Regions from separate parts of the Homo sapiens genome. Here regions 1, 2 and 3 are each linked to region 4. Evidence: promoter capture Hi-C in 16 types of primary human blood cells and fetal thymus (Javierre and others, 2016). All regions are on one chromosome and are shown on one strand. The core of a region is centred on a gene start or on the middle of the fragment in contact, and the rest is flanking DNA. Distances in the headings are between cores, read along the strand shown. Region 1 overlaps REST (RE1 silencing transcription factor). Region 2 overlaps EXOC1 (exocyst complex component 1). Region 3 has its middle 5.0 kb from the start of EXOC1. Region 4 holds the start of AASDH (aminoadipate-semialdehyde dehydrogenase).

The links. The method cuts DNA at HindIII sites, captures the fragments that hold promoters and counts their contacts. A CHiCAGO score of 5 or more calls a contact.
Region 1: a contact is called between a fragment that was not itself captured here and the fragment with the promoter of AASDH in region 4, in 8 of 17 cell types (naive CD8 T cells, total CD8 T cells, non-activated CD4 T cells and 5 more). The highest score is 8.7, in naive CD8 T cells.
Region 2: a fragment that was not itself captured here is called in contact with the fragment with the promoter of AASDH in region 4 in 9 of 17 cell types (megakaryocytes, activated CD4 T cells, total CD8 T cells and 6 more); the score reaches 7.2 in megakaryocytes.
Region 3: a contact is called between a fragment that was not itself captured here and the fragment with the promoter of AASDH in region 4, in 3 of 17 cell types (fetal thymus, non-activated CD4 T cells and total CD8 T cells). The highest score is 7.5, in fetal thymus.

Annotation. Positions count from the first base shown.
Region 1 is chr4:56,930,416-56,933,115 of GRCh38, forward strand. It overlaps REST (RE1 silencing transcription factor), which reads left to right. Exons shown (of 4, transcript NM_005612.5): 4 at 1-2,700. The coding sequence ends at 1,737. Among named protein-coding and RNA genes, the nearest start is that of REST, 24 kb to the left of the region's middle. The HindIII fragment of the contact is 4,321 bases long and covers 1-2,700 here.
Region 2 is chr4:55,865,688-55,868,419 of GRCh38, forward strand. EXOC1 (exocyst complex component 1) reads left to right here. Exons shown (of 19, transcript NM_001024924.2): 5 at 2,649-2,732. Among named protein-coding and RNA genes, the nearest start is that of EXOC1, 13 kb to the left of the region's middle. The HindIII fragment of the contact is 1,036 bases long and covers 803-1,838 here.
Region 3 is chr4:55,847,250-55,850,027 of GRCh38, forward strand. No RefSeq gene overlaps it. Among named protein-coding and RNA genes, the nearest start is that of EXOC1, 5.0 kb to the right of the region's middle. The HindIII fragment of the contact is 6,305 bases long and covers 1-2,778 here.
Region 4 is chr4:56,386,134-56,388,833 of GRCh38, forward strand. It overlaps AASDH (aminoadipate-semialdehyde dehydrogenase), which reads right to left and starts at 1,358. Exons shown (of 15, transcript NM_181806.4): 1 at 1,229-1,358. RefSeq lists enhancers at 776-1,283, 1,253-1,622, 1,284-1,790, 1,653-1,702. The HindIII fragment of the contact is 3,410 bases long and covers 68-2,700 here.

The DNA.
Region 1 (2,700 bases), core at 125-2,624, 540 kb after region 4:
AAAAGGAAGCTGGAAGTTGACAGCCATTCTTTACATGGTCCTGTGAATGATGAGGAATCTTCAACAAAAAAGAAAAAGAAGGTAGAAAGCAAATCCAAAAATAATAGTCAGGAAGTGCCAAAGGGTGACAGCAAAGTGGAGGAGAATAAAAAGCAAAATACTTGCATGAAAAAAAGTACAAAGAAGAAAACTCTGAAAAATAAATCAAGTAAGAAAAGCAGTAAGCCTCCTCAGAAGGAACCTGTTGAGAAGGGATCTGCTCAGATGGACCCTCCTCAGATGGGGCCTGCTCCCACAGAGGCGGTTCAGAAGGGGCCCGTTCAGGTGGAGCCGCCACCTCCCATGGAGCATGCTCAGATGGAGGGTGCCCAGATACGGCCTGCTCCTGACGAGCCTGTTCAGATGGAGGTGGTTCAGGAGGGGCCTGCTCAGAAGGAGCTGCTGCCTCCCGTGGAGCCTGCTCAGATGGTGGGTGCCCAAATTGTACTTGCTCACATGGAGCTGCCTCCTCCCATGGAGACTGCTCAGACGGAGGTTGCCCAAATGGGGCCTGCTCCCATGGAACCTGCTCAGATGGAGGTTGCCCAGGTAGAATCTGCTCCCATGCAGGTGGTCCAGAAGGAGCCTGTTCAGATGGAGCTGTCTCCTCCCATGGAGGTGGTCCAGAAGGAGCCTGTTCAGATAGAGCTGTCTCCTCCCATGGAGGTGGTCCAGAAGGAACCTGTTAAGATAGAGCTGTCTCCTCCCATAGAGGTGGTCCAGAAGGAGCCTGTTCAGATGGAGTTGTCTCCTCCCATGGGGGTGGTTCAGAAGGAGCCTGCTCAGAGGGAGCCACCTCCTCCCAGAGAGCCTCCCCTTCACATGGAGCCAATTTCCAAAAAGCCTCCTCTCCGAAAAGATAAAAAGGAAAAGTCTAACATGCAGAGTGAAAGGGCACGGAAGGAGCAAGTCCTTATTGAAGTTGGCTTAGTGCCTGTTAAAGATAGCTGGCTTCTAAAGGAAAGTGTAAGCACAGAGGATCTCTCACCACCATCACCACCACTGCCAAAGGAAAATTTAAGAGAAGAGGCATCAGGAGACCAAAAATTACTCAACACAGGTGAAGGAAATAAAGAAGCCCCTCTTCAGAAAGTAGGAGCAGAAGAGGCAGATGAGAGCCTACCTGGTCTTGCTGCTAATATCAACGAATCTACCCATATTTCATCCTCTGGACAAAACTTGAATACGCCAGAGGGTGAAACTTTAAATGGTAAACATCAGACTGACAGTATAGTTTGTGAAATGAAAATGGACACTGATCAGAACACAAGAGAGAATCTCACTGGTATAAATTCAACAGTTGAAGAACCAGTTTCACCAATGCTTCCCCCTTCAGCAGTAGAAGAACGTGAAGCAGTGTCCAAAACTGCACTGGCATCACCTCCTGCTACAATGGCAGCAAATGAGTCTCAGGAAATTGATGAAGATGAAGGCATCCACAGCCATGAAGGAAGTGACCTAAGTGACAACATGTCAGAGGGTAGTGATGATTCTGGATTGCATGGGGCTCGGCCAGTTCCACAAGAATCTAGCAGAAAAAATGCAAAGGAAGCCTTGGCAGTCAAAGCGGCTAAGGGAGATTTTGTTTGTATCTTCTGTGATCGTTCTTTCAGAAAGGGAAAAGATTACAGCAAACACCTCAATCGCCATTTGGTTAATGTGTACTATCTTGAAGAAGCAGCTCAAGGGCAGGAGTAATGAAACTTTGAACAAGGTTTCAGTTCTTAGTTTGTAAGGTATATTACATTTTATATTCATTTATGATAGCAGACAACCTTTTAAGATTGCTTTAATTAGTATCTGATGTTGATTTTTAAGTGGCATTCTTTTCCTTAGGACTTTTTATGTATACCTGTTGATTGTTGTGTAAATTTTAGTAAATCTAAGAGAGTGTACTAAACCAGCAGGTATCTGTTAGCTTATGTGTTTAATTGAAATTAGAAGGCTAAGATGGTATAACAGCATTTTATTGCTTTGTCCAGCTACAACTTGTCATTTTTTTCTCCATGTCTTATCTTCCTGTTTCACTTTAGTTTATTCTTCGTTTTTTATTGAGATCTATAAAAAATTGGCTTACTTAATAGCAAATTACTTGAAGAATTTGCCTGCTTTATATAAAGTTAGCACTTTAAGATTTTTTTTTTTAGAGATGAGAAGACATTTAAATTGAAGAAAAATTCCCCCAGCAATAGACAGTCTATCAGTCCAAGTATTTACTTCCTGAGTTTTGATCAATATTTTTTATTTGTGTATGTTAATCGTCATAAAAACAGTGATTTTGGTGTGTTTTTTATTTTGGTGCTTTAATGGCTTAAGATGTTGCACATTTTTTTTTTCTTTTGGTTTCTGTTTATGTTTTTTTGCCTATGCAGTTAAATTTTTCCTAGAAATAGCATTTGTGTTGAACAGTAACACTTTATACATATATATATGCATGTTTATTTTGTTTGGCGTCTTTGGAGGGATGCTTTTAGACTTGTTTGCAAAAGGGCAGTTTTCTTTTTCTTTGCTGCAGTTGTCTATTTTGCAGAATAATAGTGTGTGCAAGTTTGTGAGCAAATGAAATATGCAGGTTCAATCTATTGATTTTGATTTTTACATCTTATATCTATGCCAGAATCTGTATTTCATATAACTTATTTATTTCGAATGGATGTAGTA
Region 2 (2,732 bases), core at 71-2,570, 520 kb before region 4:
GTAAGGTGATTTTAAACCAGTATATTTCAGGACAGTCATATAGAAAAATACATACCCTACCTGGATCTGCCTCATTAAGAAATACTACCAAAATCAGTGAGAAGAGTATTACTGTTTTTGAAAATGAAGTGTCTAACTTAAAAAAAAAAAGGCATTCAATTTTTCAGGCCATAAAACAAGAGTATAGACACGTTCATGTGTATAAACATTAACCCTAACTGAGATCGATTTTAAGAATACTGAGAAGATCCTTAAGGATCTCATTTTGAAAATCACTTGCTATATACGTCAGTAACTCTTGCTTTGGTTTAGTGGAGTTCAGGGAATAGCTTCATTAATGTCTACAAACTTGTTTTATGGACCTTGAAATTACAGCCTTTAATTCCCATTAAAAAAAAATGTCTCTAAGTTTTGAGTGATGTTAGAAAACAAATAAAAAATTATTACCACCCCAGTTTAAGAGCTCAATAATTAAGTAAGACTATTTTGATTATAAATGGTAGCAGTGGCAACTTGGTAGTTTTTATTGTTGACAATTGAATACGTAAGTTAAATAATGGGGCTCCTCAGCAGAATAAGGTTTGTAAAAGAGGACTTTTCAGCAGTTGAAGTAGATTGAAGTTTTTATTTGGCCTTTTTTTTCATTCTTTTACTTGCAACCAGCTTTTTAAAAAAGAATCTTTGACTTGAATCCTTAAATGCTGGCTTGAACTGTTATTTTGTGTAATTTTTTACTTGCCTCAATCTTGTCCTTTCTAACCATGTTTTGTGACTAATCCTCTGTGAGGGAGTGTCTGGGTAAAGCTTTTGGGCCTTAAGTAACATAACTAGGCTACATGCATGAGTCACAACTGACCTAAATATAATCCCCAGGAAATGATTAGTTTGCCAGGTTTCTCCTCTAAGGGTTAGTTAGTGCTGTTTCTTAAAAGACTAAGAGAAATTAGAAAGATAAATATATTTGTAGTCACTATCAGAAAGTGAATAAGAAAAATGAACACGGCAAATTTAGCTTCTTATGGATCTTTCCACTTGGTAGTTGATTTGGCTGTCTTTTGAACTTTAACATGAAGTTCAAATGAGATATGGGTAGTATTTTAAAAATTTAAGCCTGTTTACTTTTCTACCCAGCTAATATTCTTTGCTTACTTTCCTCTGCTTTTTTCATACTTTTTACTCTCCAGAACTGCCTAAAGTTACAGAAGGTGCGTAACACCTTTTCTTCTTCTATTCCATATGTTTTTATTAGTTGCCTTTGTTATATACCGTTGGTTGTATGTTTTATGAAATGATGTACTGGGACAAATTTATTTTAAAAATCTACATAGTAATAAAATTAATGATAGTATTTATTATTGGCTTTCAAGGACATATCATTAGAAAATACTTCTGAAGCAGTTAATTATAATCATGTAAAATATTTGTTTAAGTCTACTTGTGTAAGGACCTGTACAGAATGATTTGGGCAGTCCCTGCCCCCTAGTGGCTAATAAGCTGTCACACATGACAGTTGAACTTTTTCGCAGTGAATTAAATGGACTCGTTGAAAGGACAAGGAGATCGGTAATATCTCTCTAAAGAACTTATATACTAAAATCTGTAATTGCCTGTACCAAAAGTTTTAGTCTTCTTTTTGTTCTGGGACAAATGAACGTATTTCAGGTCATGCTGAATGTAAATATTCATTTTCCTATAAAATAATGAATACTAAAAGCATCCAGAGTTTGTGGTTTAAATCATGCCCCATTAAGTCTGTGAAATTGCTAACTTTATTTAGAGTGATAAAACAACATCTTAGGAGTTAAAAATGATTTCTTTCATTTTACCTCCTAACCTCAAGCTTTATATACAGTGCTCACATGCTAGTGTATTTCCTCAAAAAAAAAAAAAAAATGAACTGAAACATCTAGAAAGCATTTCAGGTTTGACCTCTTGGTCTTTTGTTATAAAGCATGAAGCCTGTTTAACTTTTTATAATTTCAAACAGCCATGTTGTTGTTGCTCTTACTTAGAGTTATTGAGAAAGCTGTAACTTATCTTTAGAAATGTTATCAATGCATGTGAAATTTTTTTAAGCAAAGAAATGGATAATTCAGTTAATATTCTAGTGACCAAAATAAATTATGGATTATAGATGCATTTTTCATTTTAATTAAAAAGTATTTGGCAAAAATATACATACTGAAGATGAAAGTAACAAAAGTAACAAAAGAAAAATTTCACCTGGGAAAAAAAGGAAAGCAAATTGTTTTTGTGTGTACTGAATTCATAGTCATTGTTTTGTTAGAGCAACAGCCACATCAGGTACGAAAAAATGTTTAGGTTTGTTCCCACCTGTTTTTGTATTTTGTTTTTACATTTTAGCTTAATTGTATTTTGGGAAACTGTGGTGAAAGCCTGTTTTAACATTTGTAAGTTAGTGCATTAGACTGCATGCTTTTTATTTATTTTTTAGAACTTTATTTCATTAACATATTAAATTATTTATAAAAATAAAGTTTGATTTTTTCATATCATTTGAATCATTCTATCCTCTTTTTCAGCTGCTAAATGTGACCTGTGCTTATAACTATACCTACCTATATGTATTATGTTATAGTCTTTTCTACTTTTTTGACTATTTTACTTTGAATTTTTACCTCTTTAAGAATCTGTTCCAAGTGGAGAAAATCAGAGTGTGACAGGAGGTGATGAAGAAGTAGTAGATGAATACCAAGAGTTAAATGCAAGAG
Region 3 (2,778 bases), core at 174-2,673, 540 kb before region 4:
GTGGAGAAATAGGAACACTTTTACACTGTTGGTGGGACTGTAAACTAGTTCAACCATTGTGGAAGTCAGTGTGGCGATTCCTCAGGGATCTAGAACTAGAAATACCATTTGACCCAGCCATCCCATTACTGGGTATATACCCAAAGGACTATAAATCATGCTGCTATAAAGACACATGCACACGTATGTTTATTGCGGCACTATTCCCAATAGCAAAGACTTGGAACCAACCCAAATGTCCAACAATGATAGACTGGATTAAGAAAATGTGGCACATATACACCATGGAATACTATGCAGCCATACAAAATGATGAGTTCATGTCCTTTGTAGGGACATGGATGAAATTGGAAATCATCATTCTGAGTAAACTATCTCAAGGACAAAAAACCAAACACCGCATGTTCTCACTCATAGATGGGAATTGAACAATGAGAACACATGGACACAGGAAGGGGAACATCACACTCTGGGGACTGTTGTGGGGTGGGGGGAGGGGGGAGGGAGAGCATTAGGAGATATACCTAAAGTTAAATGACTAGTTAGTGGGTGCAGCACACCAGCATGGCACATGTATACATATGTAACTAACCTGCACAATGTGCACATGTACCCTAAAACTTAAAGTATAATAATAATAAAAAATAAAAAAATTAAAAAAAAAGAGATGATTTCTGCACTTCTGAGAGAATCTCCTAGAATGTGTATACGGAGTTCAGCACTGTGCATTTGTAATGACTGCCCTTTATTGTAATATCACTCTACAATATGTATATTAAATAAGGCAGCTGCATAAGAAAAGCATTGAGACGCAATGTGATTCTGCAAGCCAATCTTTGCCTTCCTTATATTTATTTGTATGTCACATTATATTACTTTCCAATAATGATGTCAAATGTGCATCTACTATCTAACTAATATTTATTTATAATATTTACTTAATTAATATTGATACAGGTAATTACCATCCTTATTTAGTGACTCCCTGACTTCCTCCCATAAAGCTACAAAGAAATGGAAAGTATCACGTGGGGATATTTACATCTATTTCTAACAAAACCTAAAACAAACACCAATTGCTTTATGTATTTAACAGTAGAGACATTTCTTCCTTGCTGCAGTTGTTAAAGATATTTAGAAAATAAAGAATCTGGGCCTAGGTGGGCAGATCACTTGAGCCCAGGAGTTTGAGACCAGCCTGGGCAACATGGCAAAACCCCATCTCTACTAAACCCCATCTCTACTAAAAATACAAAAGATCACCCAGGCATGGTGGCATGTGCTTGTAGTCCCAGCTACTTAGGAGGTTGAGGCAGAAGAATCGCTTGAACCTGGGAGGCAGAGGTTGCAGTGAGCTAACGCCATTGCACTCCAGCCTGGGTGACAGAGCAAGACTGTCTCCAGAAAAAACAGAACGAAAAAGAAAATAAAGAATCTGGGAAGTGCAGCATTGTAACTCTCATTGTCCACCCCCCACCCCCACAAAGAGTTACTTGGTGTTCTTTGTGTTGATACTAATAGTCTTACATCTCTGAAAAAAAGTTCTTCCTTTCTTAGACAGGAACATGCATCATTAAATTATAAGAAAACAATGCTAAGAAATAGGGAAGAGAAAAATCAAAGTAAGTGTCATAATAAATGTCAAATGTTTAAAATGTCACATTTCAAATTGAAATTATATAAATCTACATGATTTTAAACATTTGAACATTTTAAACATTTGAAGATCCCTTAGCTTTATACCCAAATTAAAATTAATCAGACTGATATCAAAAGACAGTTTGGATGCCAGTAAAAGAGGCATCCAAATATGAAATATGAAAGTCCACTTCCATGAAATCTATGAGTTTTCTCACTAAACAATGTCCTCAAAGCCAGTGGAGCTACCACCGATGTCATCAGAGACAGCCCTAGAGGGAGTGGGGCACTTTTGCCCTTCCTCCTTCAGGGGTTCAAGCTGAGGAAAAGGATGGTCTCCCTCCCCCTTCAAAAGGTGCAAAATGGATTCAGGTCTTGAGAAGAACATGAAGTCTTTACAATCTTCAGGCCTCTGCTTTACTGGTGCACAGTAACAAGAGCGATTTCTCTGAGGAAACAATTAACTTCTATAAATCATCAATATTTACTACTCTTCACCATTTAGAAGAGACTTTTCCCTTGGAGCTTACTAACAATGGAAAAGTTATTTCATGCTATGTAAGTATGAGATTCCCTCATATGTGATACATGTTAATATATACAGCCTTCTTTCTATGTAAAGGAAGCGGGACCTCAGAACCTCCTTGGGCAGAACCTCCTTGGGTGACTATTACATGTTTTTCAAGTAGGTAAATCTGCCCAATTTAATCTACTAAACCAATCTGCATGTAATAACAGCTACCATTTATTGAATGCTTATACTGTGTGCCAAGCAATGAGACAAGTGCTTTACAAGAAACATCTTAGCAAATATGCCCAAGATGGGATTACTATTTTTTATATACAGATGAGAAAATTGAGGCTCTGAAGAGTTAAGTAACTTGCCCTGTGGTCACTGACTCAGTAAAGGGTAAAGACCAGATTTGAACCCCTGGTCTGTGTGATTCCGAAACAGGAAAATTCCCTTATCCCCATCGCAGGGCATGCGATGGGGGTGTCACTCACTTCTTCAGTGCCCCACTGCTCAAACCTCTAGGGGGAGCATGCAGAAGGGCAGGTTGTGGGGCTCGGACTCCACGGCAGCGTATAGGGGTGAACGTTTACAGCTCCTGAAGCCCTGCTCAGCGTTTGTTACAGGGT
Region 4 (2,700 bases), core at 108-2,607:
CATTATTTATTTTTAGTAGGCATTTCTATAAATATTAGCTCTTTTTAATGCACAAGATACAATTTTAAGCTTTCCTCAGACATACAATGATCATTATGTAAATATAAGGGAGGCTTTCTGCAGCAGGCGCTTAAATTATGAGGAATGAGTTCATTTCGCAACATACAGGTAGCGCAGAAGGGTACCTACACATCTATACGATAATTAAGATGTTTCTTTCCATTTTCCCAATGGTTGCTACAGACATTTAAGGTAAAATCCATTCTTCTTGTCTCAGGTTTTCATTTTCATTCATTGAATCACAAATAACATTCTCTGCAGTAGAGAATACTAAACTTATTAATGCCCAAATGTTTGAGACCTTAAAAAGGAAAAAAAGGCCGGGCGCGGTGGCTCACGCCTGTAATCCCAGCACTTTGGGAGGCCGAGGCGGGTGGATCATGAGGTCAGGAGATCGAGACCATCCTGGCTAACAAGGTGAAACCCCGTCTCTACTAAAAATACAAAAAATTAGCCGGGCGCGGTGGCGGGCGCCTGTAGTCCCAGCTACTCGGGAGGCTGAGGCAGGAGAATGGCGTCAACCCGGGAAGCGGAGCTTGCAGTGAGCCGAGATTGCGCCACTGCAGTCCGCAGTCCGGCCTGGGCGACAGAGCGAGACTCCGTCTCAAAAAAAAAAAAAAAAAAAAAAAGGAAAAAAAAAAGCAAACTCTGGTAAGCAGATTTTACATGTAAAAGGAATAAATTTACTTGCTACAACTGTAGAAGCTGCTATTTAGTCAACAAAGATCTTAAGAGTGTCAGCAAATTCAATTGCTATGGGGCCTCTCTCTAGGCCACTGGCTGTTTTAAAAATGGATAAATAATCTAGAAACTTTATTTTCCCAATTCCCCGGCTTCTAAATTTACGGTATGCAACGAGTAACAATGCAATTTACAGCTTCCTAAACATTTCTTCATTGCTCTTCGAAACCACTCTAGGGGGTAGCTGAGCGCGGAGCACACTTATTTCCATTTGAATGGAGGGGCGGAGGCTAGTGACGCAGGAGTGTACACACAGGTCAGGGTTAGTCTGCACCACACCAGCACGCCAGACCCCGATGTATCAAATCCGAGGTCAGGCAGTGGTCCTGAAGCTGAGCAAATGTATGTGGAAGCAGGCTCAGGCCTAGCGGCACTTCGCCTCCTTCACACAGACCCCCGCCGGACACCGCGCCCTGCCGCGACTCACTTAGCAAGTCTCGCGGATTAGGTTTGATCGCATTCGGCCCTTTCCCGGATAGCTCGTCGCGGATACTTCTCACAGCGAAGCAGCAGCTCCCAGAAGCCGTAAAGCTATCCCAGAGCGAGGCACCATACGTAAATCTTCCGCGTCGCTACGTGACGTCAGTGCGAGCGACCCCGGGCCGGCTGCGTGGAGCTGGCGCTGCCTCTCCTGAAGCCGAGGCGCTAACTTGAGTGAAGAGGTCTATAGGCTTTTTCACTTTTGGTTATCTGCTCAGGCGCTCCTTGGGGTCGCGCATGGTCTCGGACAGGGTTTGCAAGGACTTCGGAGCTAACCAGTTTGGAGCCATAACCCTTTCGTACTTGCCAAAAAACTCTGGGCAAGACTCTTGAATTTTGAGCCGCAGTATTCTCGTTCATAAGGTGAGAATAAAAACATCACCTAGGGTTGATGTGAAGAGAGATGAAATCATTGTGAAATAGGAGAGTTATTGCTTTCAACCAATGACATTTTCTGGAAACGTGCTGGAGATATGGCTGCAGCAGTGACGCCTGCAAACGACGTTCCTGTCATCATGATGCTGACATTTTAATTGGGAAGCAGATTGAAACGATAACTAAGGAATTTGACAGGAGCATTTAGTAGGACCTGTAAAGAAATTAAAGCAGGTCCGAGGTGGAGTTTTGTAAACTATATGCCTGAATAGAACTTTCTGTTTCCAAGGGAATTGTTACAGTTGGAGACATGTCAATTATTACAATAAGCGTCAAGGGCAATAACAGAGGTGTTTTAAAGCTACTGTCTGGTGGCAGAATAATCGGGATTTTTTTGTTTGGGGGGTTTTAGCCGGGGGAGGGACTGCGAAGACAGCTCTGCATCAAAACAGTACGTGAGAAAAAAGCATAGGACGCTCTCGCAGCCGTAGTTGTTGGTGACAAGAAACTGTGCTTCTAATCTAAGCAAAAAATATCTCCACATGCCAACTATACTTTTCCAAGATGTACCATGGACTACTCAAACTAACACAGCCTTATTTATGTATTTAGGTTGGAAGTGGGCAAAAGTGTATCTTGTCTATGTTTCTATGTTTCTACGTTGGGATGACACCATCATCCACCCAGCCAGACAGTTATCAACCTTCCCACTTTCTTAACCTCTTACATCCGATTAGACCCTATGTCCTCTAGTTCTCAGTCTTGAGACCAGCACCCAGCTGGCTACATCAGAATTGCCGGTGGTGATGTTTTAGAAGATTCCAAATTCCTGGACTCCATCCCCGGAGGTTCATCCCCTAGTTTTCTAGTGAGGGGCCTAGAACCTGCGTTTTTTAAGTGTCATGTTCATCGCCATTACTGCTACTTTAGTTCAGGTCTTCTTGGTCAGCTTTTTCCTAAAACGTTTTCAGTTTTGTTTGCCTCTGATTGACTCTGAATTGCTGCCAAAATGATGTTTTATTATTCCAGTATCATCATCCAACT